2 separate regions of the Homo sapiens genome follow, and region 2 is linked to region 1. The links are contacts of gene promoters, found by promoter capture Hi-C in blood cells and fetal thymus (Javierre and others, 2016). All regions are on one chromosome and are shown on one strand. The core of a region is centred on a gene start or on the middle of the fragment in contact, and the rest is flanking DNA. Distances in the headings are between cores, read along the strand shown.

What was found. The method cuts DNA at HindIII sites, captures the fragments that hold promoters and counts their contacts. A CHiCAGO score of 5 or more calls a contact.
Region 2: a fragment that was not itself captured here is called in contact with the fragment with the promoter of COL4A2-AS2 in region 1 in 1 of 17 cell types (M1 macrophages); the score reaches 5.2 in M1 macrophages.

Annotation. Positions count from the first base shown.
Region 1 is chr13:110,462,037-110,465,373 of GRCh38, reverse strand. It overlaps COL4A2-AS2 (COL4A2 antisense RNA 2), which reads left to right and starts at 2,087. Exons shown (of 5, transcript NR_171022.1): 1 at 2,087-2,351. COL4A2 (collagen type IV alpha 2 chain) reads right to left here. Exons shown (of 48, transcript NM_001846.4): 23 at 3,188-3,260; 24 at 2,990-3,096. The HindIII fragment of the contact is 13,540 bases long and covers 1-3,333 here.
Region 2 is chr13:108,267,243-108,274,536 of GRCh38, reverse strand. It overlaps TNFSF13B (TNF superfamily member 13b), which reads right to left and starts at 4,819. Exons shown (of 6, transcript NM_006573.5): 1 at 4,303-4,819; 2 at 4,113-4,197. The coding sequence starts at 4,641. RefSeq lists a silencer at 3,914-3,993 and enhancers at 3,894-4,402, 4,354-4,783. The HindIII fragment of the contact is 1,636 bases long and covers 1,906-3,541 here.

The DNA.
Region 1 (3,337 bases), core at 838-3,337:
ATATACTAATGTTAAAGATCGCCTCGACTTCCCTGTTTCCTTTCCCATTTCCCGGAATTCTGAGCTATGGATCCAGAACAGAAAGACAACAGAGATGAACAGGAACCTAGTGCCATGGTCAGCCAGGTCACAGGAGCCAGTGACAGACTGTGTAGCAGTCTAAGCAATGCCACGGAAGCCGGTTCTGGAAGGCACATGTACATGCTTGAGCATTTCTCTCTTCCCACCCGCCAGCTCCCCTGCATCAGCCTGGGCCTTCATCTCCAGAACAGCGAAGGCACAGGCTTTTGTGTTCTACTGTGGGTGGAGAAAGAAACACATGATTTTGTTGTTATAATTTAGCATCGGTAAAATGGCTGTTATTTTAAGAGATGCTACGTTGTTAAAGGAAAGGAAGCTAATTTGGACAAGGAAAGAGCCGTGTGCGCCTCAGAAGTCAGGAGAGATTACAGGATTGGGAATGGAGAGGGGCTGCCCTGTGGATGAAAGCACCAGCTGCAGGGTGCGGGGGGGAGCTGGTGGGAGGTGCAGGGATGGGGTGGGGAGGCTGGCAGCAGTGATGCTGGTGTGATCTGCGCACACACCACGGCACGGCTCGGTGCTGTCCCCACGTGCTGGTGGAACAGCCATGCGCATAAGCTCCCGCTCATCTGCTGAGCCACGGGACGAGGCTGGGTGTTCTCATGACAATGAGGCAGCTGCTTATAAGAAATCAAACCCTGCTCTCCACTGACACCACAGCCCCTTCCTTGTCAAAGGCATGACGGAGCGGGGCAGGGACACCGGTCCAGCTCTATTTATGAGACCTTGATTAAGTGGTGTACCCCTGTGTTTTAGCTTTTTTTCACAGGGGAGGGGGACACAAGGCTGTTGCAGAGATCACAGGGCAGATGCCCCAAACTTAGTGGACAGCAGTGGGGATGATGCCACTGGAAGGTGGCACAGGCAGGATCACGAGTTTTCTAAAGGCAGAAGTTGACATTCTTGGTTTAGAGATGCCACCAAACAAGGAAGGCACACAAGCACTGGGAAAGTCCCTACACCCCGAGAATGGGAAGCTGAGGCTGCAAGGTTCTCCCTGACCCTAACCCTCACCCCTACCCCTAACCCTGCTCCGACCACCTGCCCCCAGCTGGGCTGGGACTGGCAGCCAGGCTTGGGAGCCGCAGGGGTGGGTGAACCCCATGGCTGGACAGGTGCACCTCCTGGTCACCAACTTCACAAGGCACCAACTCCAGGGAAGGCCACCACTACCGTAACAAATCCAGACTCAAACGGACCACACACATACACACATGAGCACACCACACACCACACATACACTCACCACCCCCACCCCACATGACACTGAACAGGCCAAAGACTGTTCCAACCACAGGAATCATCACTCATCCTCCTCTTCTGGCTAAAGTGACCAATTATGACTTTGCCTCTTATTTAACCCTGTTGCCTCCCAGATGAGATTTTTAAGATACCCAATCATAGAATTATCTGTGTTCTCTGGCCCCAAAAAACTGCACTTAAATTGTAAAAATGTGGGCCGGGTGTGGTGGCTGATGTCTATAAAACCAGTGCTTTGGGAAGCCAAGGCAGGAGAATCACTTGAGCCCAGGAGTTTGAGACCAGCATGGGCAACATAGAGAGATCTCATCTCTACAGAAAATTTTAAAAATATTAGGTGGGTGTGCTGGTGTGCACCTGTGGTCCCAGGTACTCGGGAGGTTGAGGCAGGAGGATGGCTTGAGTCCAGAAGTTCGAGGCTGCAGTGAGCTTTGATTGTACCACTGCACTCAAGAGTGTTATTACAGACATGACCCACGTTAAAACTAGAGAAGACATGGGTTATGGAATGAGGCAAATAAGCTGCGAATAGAATTCAGGCGTGAGGCTCTGAGGAGGAGAAAGAGGATTATGACTTCAATCGTCCTCCAATGATGCTGAAGTCTTAACCCCCAGGACCTAGACATGTGACCTTATTTGGAAATAAGGTCTTTGAGGGTGCTCAAGGTCAGATGAGGTCTTTAGGATGGGCCCATTCCAATATGACCGCTCTCCCTATAAAAAGGGGAAATTTGGGCCCAGAGACAGACACACAGAGAGGACAGATGATGAGAAGACAGAGAGAAGACAGCCGTCTATAAGCCAAGGAATGCCAGAGCTCCGGGAACCTGGGAGAGAGGCAGGGACAGATCCTCCCGCACTGTCTCAGAAGGAACCAGCCCTGCAGACACCTTGATGTCGGCTTTCAGCCTCCAGAGCTGTGAGACCATACATTTCTGATGTCTAAGCTGCCCAGTCTGTGGCAGTTTGTGACCTCAGCCCCAGGAAACCAGTACAAAGAGCTTAAGGAGGTACAGGCTTGGTGACTAGAGGGAGGAAAATGGAATCTAGAAAAAAAGACGTGAGAAATAAGGTTGCAAGGTCCTTCTGAGAAGAGAATGCTCCAGAGCTGGCAGTGGGAAAGGCGTGGTGGCAGGAGAGGCTCAGAGGCTGGAGGGTGCACAGGAAGGGGTCTTGTCTCCCTCCATGGCTGCCTCCCGCGCCTCTGACCCCAGCCTCCCCTGAGGAAATGATGCTGGGGTCTCTGCAGGCTACTAGGTAGCCCCTCCTTCAACACCAGTGTGTGTTTGTTGCAAAAATGAAATTGTATATTTCATGATTTACCTTGGAAAAATAGGGTTCCACCACCCATTTTAGAATAGTCTACTTTTTTTGGCGGGGGAGGGTTCTTAGTCTGTTACACCAGGAGGAATATTTCTTTGATTGTTGACTTTTAAATGTTCATTTGGAGCTTGGCTTCTAACTTAATTCACCGTTTCCTAAAAAGTCTGATTTCTGCTCATTAGAAATAGAATGAGCAGAATGAGCAGCCTGTCCTATGCACAGGTTGGTTTAGTGCTCATGTCAATACTGTTTGCTTCTGGGGTGTTTGGAGAACCTGAAGGATGAAGAAGAGAGGACGGAGCTGCCGCAGTTTGTGGCTACTCACGGGAGGGCCTGGGAGGCCGGGGAATCCATCGAGCCCATCGCGGCCTGGGCTGCCATCGTCACCTTTCATCCCGGGCACACCTGGGACGCCGGGCTGTCCCCGCTCACCTAGAAAGGGATTTGCATGTGAAGCTGCCCAGGCAGGTGCCCACAGGAAGGCTCAGTGCCCCAGGGGCCGCGTGGCCAGAGAGGAACTCACCTTTGGTTGTGATTGTTCTGGAATCTCCTTTTGCTCCTTTGGGTCCGGGAGCACCAATGTTGCCAGGCACTCCCTGTGGAAAACAGACAAAAAAATATCTTCCTTCTTTGTACTGTGAGGGCATCTGAGAAGATGGCTGGCAAGCTTTTT
Region 2 (7,294 bases), core at 1,474-3,973, 2.2 Mb after region 1:
TAATTTTATTAACAAGGAATAGTAGACATGATGTCATTAAGATTCTTATCTTCAAATCTTCCACCTTGGATTTGTGAAAGTTATGAGTGTGTATACTATGTCCTATTTGAATATATACACATAACACATATGCACACTATGTATGTATATATATGTATATATATATATATTTGTATGTGTATATATTTGTACATATATTTGTATAAATATATGTATTTGTTCATATATGTATTGTTCATATGTATTGTTCATATGTATATGAACAAATACAGTTGATCCTTGAACAACACAGGAATTAGGGTCACTGACCCCATGCAGTCAAAACTTTGTGCTTAACTTTTGACTCCCAAATCTTAATTACTAACAGCCCACTGTTGACCAGAAGCCTTTCTGATAACAAAAACTCAATCAATACGCATTTCATAAATTATATGTATTATGTAGTGTATTCTTACAATAAAATAAGCTAGAGAAAAGAAAATGTTATTTTAAAAAATCATAAGGAAGAGAAAATGCATTTACTATTCATTAAGTGGAAGTGGATCATTATAGAGTTCTTCATTCTTCACATTGAGTAAGCTAAGGGGGAGGAGGGAAAGGAGGCGTTGGTCTTGCTATCTCAAGGGTGGAAAGTGGAAGAAAATCCACATACAAGGGGACCCTCGCGGTTCAAACCTGTGTTGTTCAAGGGTCAACTATAATGTCATGACTCTTCTTTGCTTCCTGGGAGCATTTCCAGCATCACTATCGCATTTTCTATAGGTCTCATGGTGTTATTCAAGGTTTATGATATTGCATTACACAAGAAGAAAAATACACACAAATCATGAGAAATCATTTTTACTGCAATATCCAACTGATTGGAGATACAACTGGCTCATGCAGAGATGATTAGCATCACATGGTGTTTTAAGCAGATACTCACAGCACTTGAGCTCACTGCAGTAGCAACAGGAGGTGGCTATGAAATTATTACAGTAGTACAGTATGTACCACAGTTAATTTTATGCAGTGATGACTTAATACTGCATGTTTATGTTTGTTTCCATTTCTCTAGACTACAAAGGGCGCTATGTACAGTCTGTTTGTATGCATATGTTTTGAGAATTTTTAACTTTTGTGTATATTTTATGATAGTAATAAGAAAATAGACCAGTATCTACATATATTTTATACATTCATGACATGGCTAATTAATCTTAATATTTTCAACATTTCAAAGATACACAGTTCTTCCATGAGTTTTTTCAAATTATCACAAATCTACAGATAATTTTCCAATAGGTTTATTGAAAAAAAAAATCCACCTGTAAGTGTATCCATGCTGTTAAAACTTGTGTTGTTCAAGGCTCAACTGTGTGCAATATATACCTATATGCACACTGTATTAAGGTTTATTAAAAAGTCTAGGGCAAACCATGAAATAATAATAGTAGCTACTTCTGGGCTGTGGAAATCTGGGCAAATTTTTTTTCACTTTGTTAGAATCTACAAATTGCAAATTATTTGGTGAAAGATTCTCATCAGTATACTATTCCTGGATGCCATTAAAACACAAATACATAAAAGTATTAATAGGAGAATTTTGGGAAAATGTGACCCAAGAAGTTATTTCTTTCCTACTCTATTATTCTTTTCTTCTTAAATCTGCTGAAATGAGTCTACATCTTTTTTTTTAATTGTAAAGTTAAAGTTTATTTTTAAAACTAATATTTAGAAACGGGGATATTAGCAGTGAAGGTTAAGGAGATTGAAGGATCCTGACCCTACTAGTTATTGAAGCCTCTTATAATACAAATTACCTTAAAAATATTCTTTAAAGCATATAAATAGAATAATCAATTAAAAAAAAGAGTCTCAAATAGATTCAACTCTTATGAGGAACTTAATAAAACACAGTAAGCTTTTCAACACCAAGGAGTTAAAAAGAACTATTTAATACATTTGGTTGAGATACCAGTTAGAAAGGAAAAAAGAGAGAGGGGGAAGTTAAAGCCAATGTGAGATGATTCATCAAAATAAACAACAGAAGGACTAATGAGTTAAAACAAAACACTCAACTATGAAAAAGTCAAAGTGGCAGGGAGTCAACTACTTAAGAAAACATGAACAAATGTATTTTTAGCTTTAATATTAGGGAAAATTTTTTAAAGATTATCACTTTACTATAGAGAAATGCAAAATGTTCAAGTAAAAAAAGAAGCAAAACTGTTAAAATATTTACATCAAAATTTTGATCAATTATCAATATGTCTAATTAGGAAGAGCTTATCCAAAATTATAAAAACATGGGACAGACAAGTGGAGACAGTTATAAATAAAAATTAGCAAAAGATAAAATTATAAATAATCAAAATATGCAGAAAGTTTATTCATATTAGTAAACAAGCAACACATCAAAATAAATGTGAGATATTGTTTTACAACTACTAAACTAGTCAAAATACACTTTAAAAATAACATGCAAGCAAGAATGTGGAGAACCGGTACACCACATTTTTGATTGCATGTATAACTCATTTTGAAAACAATATGGCAGTCGGAAGCAAGGGTGATGAAGATGTTTCTTCTCCCTAGCTCAGATATTCCACTATATGAATTTTATATTGAATATATAATTTCACAGAAATAAAAGAGTTCTGTGCAAAACTTTTGCATGTTGTATTATAGCAAAGAGAATGGAAATAACCATTTAAAACAATTGTTAGATAAATTAATACAGATATATGAAAAATACTTAGAAATAGGAAAAATCCTTATTGTATAAGTCAAAACAAAAAATATTATAGTATATATTCCGTATTATTTTCAATTATGTAGGAAATATAGACTATAAAATGCAGACGATAAAAATAATTGATGTGTTAAAATAATAAAAATGTGCATGTTTCCTAATTTAAAAATGTTTAAGCCCAGTTATTCCTGATAACTAGTATAAAGATACAATAACCAGATACCAAAAATTATGGTTTTATAAAATAAGAAACAATTTTTTATGAATAAAGCATATAGTCAAAAAATAAGTTTATAGTCAGGGTACCTCATGCGTGTGTGTGTGTGTGTGTGTGTGTGTGTGTGTGTGTGTGTGTGTGATAGAAGGGTCCCTGGTCTATCTCTCACTACATTTCTTATGCAATTCTCTTCAGAAGTGAAAATATACATAAATTATTGCATGTATTCTGTGGACTTCATAGCGTCACTGTGAAGGTTAAACGAAATAGTATGTTTGAAAATGCCTATTCTGGTCTATAGCTGTACGATACGTTCCAGGTGCTCAAAAAATATTCTTTCAATATATTTAATAAAAGGACAATAATATTAAGAATTTGTTATATTATAACTTTAATAAATGTATACAAAGATTCTTTTTTTCACCTTCAAATGAAAGAACTAGAATCGATCATTTTGGTAGGCCCCACCAACTCTGTAAAGTTCCGTGGAATGAGCAGAACATGAAGAAAGTCAGAAATCAGTAAAGGACGATTATAAGAAGACGATAAATGCATGGATCCCCTGGAAAAGCGTACCTTAAAGAGAAGCTTTAAAATCTGTGTGTGTGTCTGTGCGTGTGTGTGTGTGTGTGTGTAAAATAACCTTTTTAACAAATAAACAAAATTAAAGTACAACATACAGGGCCTTTCATTACAACCTTCACCTGGTTTCACAACATGTAATGTACATTCAGAAAACAGATGTCTTTAACTTTCTATGACCCAGGTAGTAAGCAAAGTCTAATTCTAACATGTAATGCTTTTTTTTATTTTTCTGGAGTGATGAATAATGCTTCTCACATGGGAGGGCATTATCTACCTGAGGAAACACATATGGCCCTTTTATCTCCTCTATGCTTAATGCACAGATAAATACTTACACACGCACAGAGAAATGCTTCCAGTCACACGATCTGCTCATTGGAGGAAAAAGCACACCCATGCAGCCTGTTACATTTGCCAGCGCTGGGGCTTTGCTCTAAAGCAATGTCTGCTTTGGATGGCAAATTTCATAGTCTCTATTTAATAGGTTCATAGAGGGGATACTCACCTCCAGCTCCCCCAGACTGGATGTTATTCTCTAATCCCTGACTCCTAAAAGTGTCTGTGCCCAAAACATACCTGTTTCTTCTGGACCCTGAACGGCACGCTTATTTCTGCTGTTCTGACTGGAGTTGCCTTCTCCTGGAGCTGGTGGTTCAAAGATCTATGAACAGAAAAACTTCAAGTTATTAGAAAGACAGCTGAGGCGAGGGAGAGGCAGCAGTGTAGGCAGGATCTTGCCTGCGTCTTGCAGCTGCTGCAAACTCACTTTCAGTCCCGCGGTGACAGCTGGAGCTTCCTCCAGGCCGGCCTTGGGGGCTCCTGCTCCTGCTGGCAGCTTCTCCGCGTGGTGGCCCTGCAGCTCTGCCCGGAGGCTGGCCAGGTCCCCTTGCAGGGCGGCCACCTGGTAGAAAGACACCACCGTGAGGCAGCAAGACAGCAGTGCCAGCAGCAAGGTTGCAGCCAGCAGCTTTCCGTCTTTGGAGGATCGGACAGAGGGGCTTTCCTTCCGTGGGAGGATGGAAACACACTCCTTCAGTTTCATTTCTTCTCTTTTCTTAAGGCAAGAAGTAAGGCGTGACTGCTCCCTTTCTGTGGAGTCATCCATATCACTACTTGAACTTTGAAGGTTGGGGCCTTTAGAATAAGTGACCACAGGGAATGGATCATTTCCTGTTATCTGTGTTTGTTGATGTCCTGCGTGCACTACATGGCAGGGCTTGGCTCACCCCTCAGGAGAGTTATCCTGAATTTTCTCCTTTCTGCCTTTCTGCATCTCTACCCCTACTGTACAGTAGGTTTGCTGGCATTTACCCTCCGATTGGATTGCTCAATCTGTCTTCCTCATTTCACTTTCAGTTTTTGTAAGAATTTCAAAGTCTTCTCATAACACTCATGCTCAAGTAGATTTAAAACCCCTTAAATCTGCTGAGGAAACTTGGAGTTTGGATTGGCACAGTCAAGGGAAAGCTTTTAAGATATGCTCAGGTCTGAGAAGCCCACCCTTAAGTGTAGCAAGGGAACTCTGTCTGCTTGGGACCACATGGCTTCATAAGGAAGGGGGAAAAGCAGCTGAAAGTTCCTGCTGCTGTCATAAAAATAATTAATGTGAAGGTCAGATAAGCTAAGTGTTTTAGCATTGAATTGTTCTTAGCTAGAGAGTGATTTATTAACAGTCTTCAATTATGAAATAAAATGGAGAATCCTTGAAGGAAGTGTGGAAGTAAGTCCACTGGGAATTATTCATATTATTATACTAATAATGTCATAAAAAGAATGAGAGTAAATGTTACAGACGTATTTAGGTTAGATATCTGAAGGATTCTCTAAATATAAGTGAATATATTTTTAAGGAAAACATGCATAAACTTTTTCCTTCTGGGACTCATCACTGAAACTCAATCATGCATATGAACAGCCTGTCCCAAGGAGCCTGGTCTCAGCTTTTCTGCTCAGACTTCTGAGGCTTTAAGTCCCCGCTCAATATGATACTAGTTGAGGAGAATCAGCCTTGCCTCCAGCTCCAAATGCCTGACTGCTACCATTAACCACTCTCAAGTAGCTTGTCTACAACTCCCATGTTGACTGTGCCACAGCCTAACAGGTCGGTGTACAAGAGGTCCTTGATCACACAAGAGCCACCTTAGCTTTGGATTTTTCTGTTGTTGACTTGGTGGACCTGTGAGGACTGTTGCATTCATTCTAGTCCTGCCTTATCCTGATGGCTGGTTCCTGGACATTCCCCAGTTTTTCACTGCTTTGCCCCAGCATTGAAATATTGATTCATCTTTCAACAAACGTTACTGAGCACTTACCAAGCCCTGGGTAGTCACTACTCCCCTGTGGACTAAGAATAGTGAGCTTTAGTTCTGTCTCACTCTACATTTCCACACAGTCTTAAGTAAGAAGTTTACAGAAATGATATAGTGCAAAGTGGAGAACTCCAGACCCAGGCTTCTAGACTGCAAATCCTGCCTCACCCTCGCTCTCCTTATGCAAAGTACATAATCTCTCTGTGATTCCATTTCCTCACCTGTGAATTCGTATGACGATATTAACTGTCCCTGGGATACATAATGAGGCTTACAAGAATGTGGAAACAAATTACATTTTGGATGCTTCCATTTAAAAAAAAATTATTTCCACAGGTTTTTGGGGAATAGGTGGTATTTGATTACATGGTTAAGTTATTTAGTGGTGATTTGTGAGATTTTGGTGCACCCATCACCCGAGCAGTGTACACATTGAACCCATTTTTTAGTCTTTTATTCCTCACCCCCCTCCCACCCTTTCCCCTGAGTCCCTAAAGTCCATTAGATCATTCCTATGTCTTTGCATCTTTGTAATTTAGCTCCCACTGTGAGTTAGAACATACAATGTTTGGTTTTCCATTCCTGAGTTACTTCACTTAGAATAATTGTCTCCAATCCCATCCAGGCTGATGCGAACATCATTAATTCATTCCTTTTTATGGGTGAGTAGTATTCCATCATATATATGTATCATAGTTTCTTTATCCACTCATTGATTGACGGGCATTTGGGCTGGTTCTATATTTTTGCAGTTGTGAATTGTGCTGCCATAAACATGTGTGTGCAAGTATGTTTTTCGTATAACAACTTCTTTTCCTCTGGGTAGATACCCAGTAGTGGGATTGCTGGATCAAATGGTAGTTCTACTTTTAGTTCTTTAAGGAATCTCCACACTGTTTTCCATGGTGGTTGTACTAAATGATCAGGGAAATGTAAATCAAAAGCACGGTGCAATGCTTCCATTTTTTCATTCACTTTTATTCTTTACATTCAAAGTATGAATGAAACATTTTTCAGTTACAAACAGTGCTCTAATAGATATTTTCTACAACTGTGCTTGTAACGTCTGCAAGGGTTTCCCAGCAAATGCCTGCTGAGGGAGAAGCACATCTTCACTTTTACAGGCACCACCCAGTTACCCTCTGACGAGTTCCCATTTCCTCATTGTCTTACTACAAAATGACGCAGTCAGACTTACTTGTTTTTACCATTAGGATTGTTTTTTGTTTTTTGTTTTTTTCCCTTTGCATCTGCAAGTTTCCAAGACCTTTTAAAAATAACTTGTTATTATCCTGGCCCCCAAAATAAGCTGCTCTCTAATTTTTCTTACCTATAACTCCCACAATAAGGTGACCGTGCCCCAGTCTAACAGGTACGTAGACAAGAGGTCCTCCATCAACCTTCTCAGGTGGAAGTCTTCTTTTAGAAGGATGTTTGTAAACCCTTTTG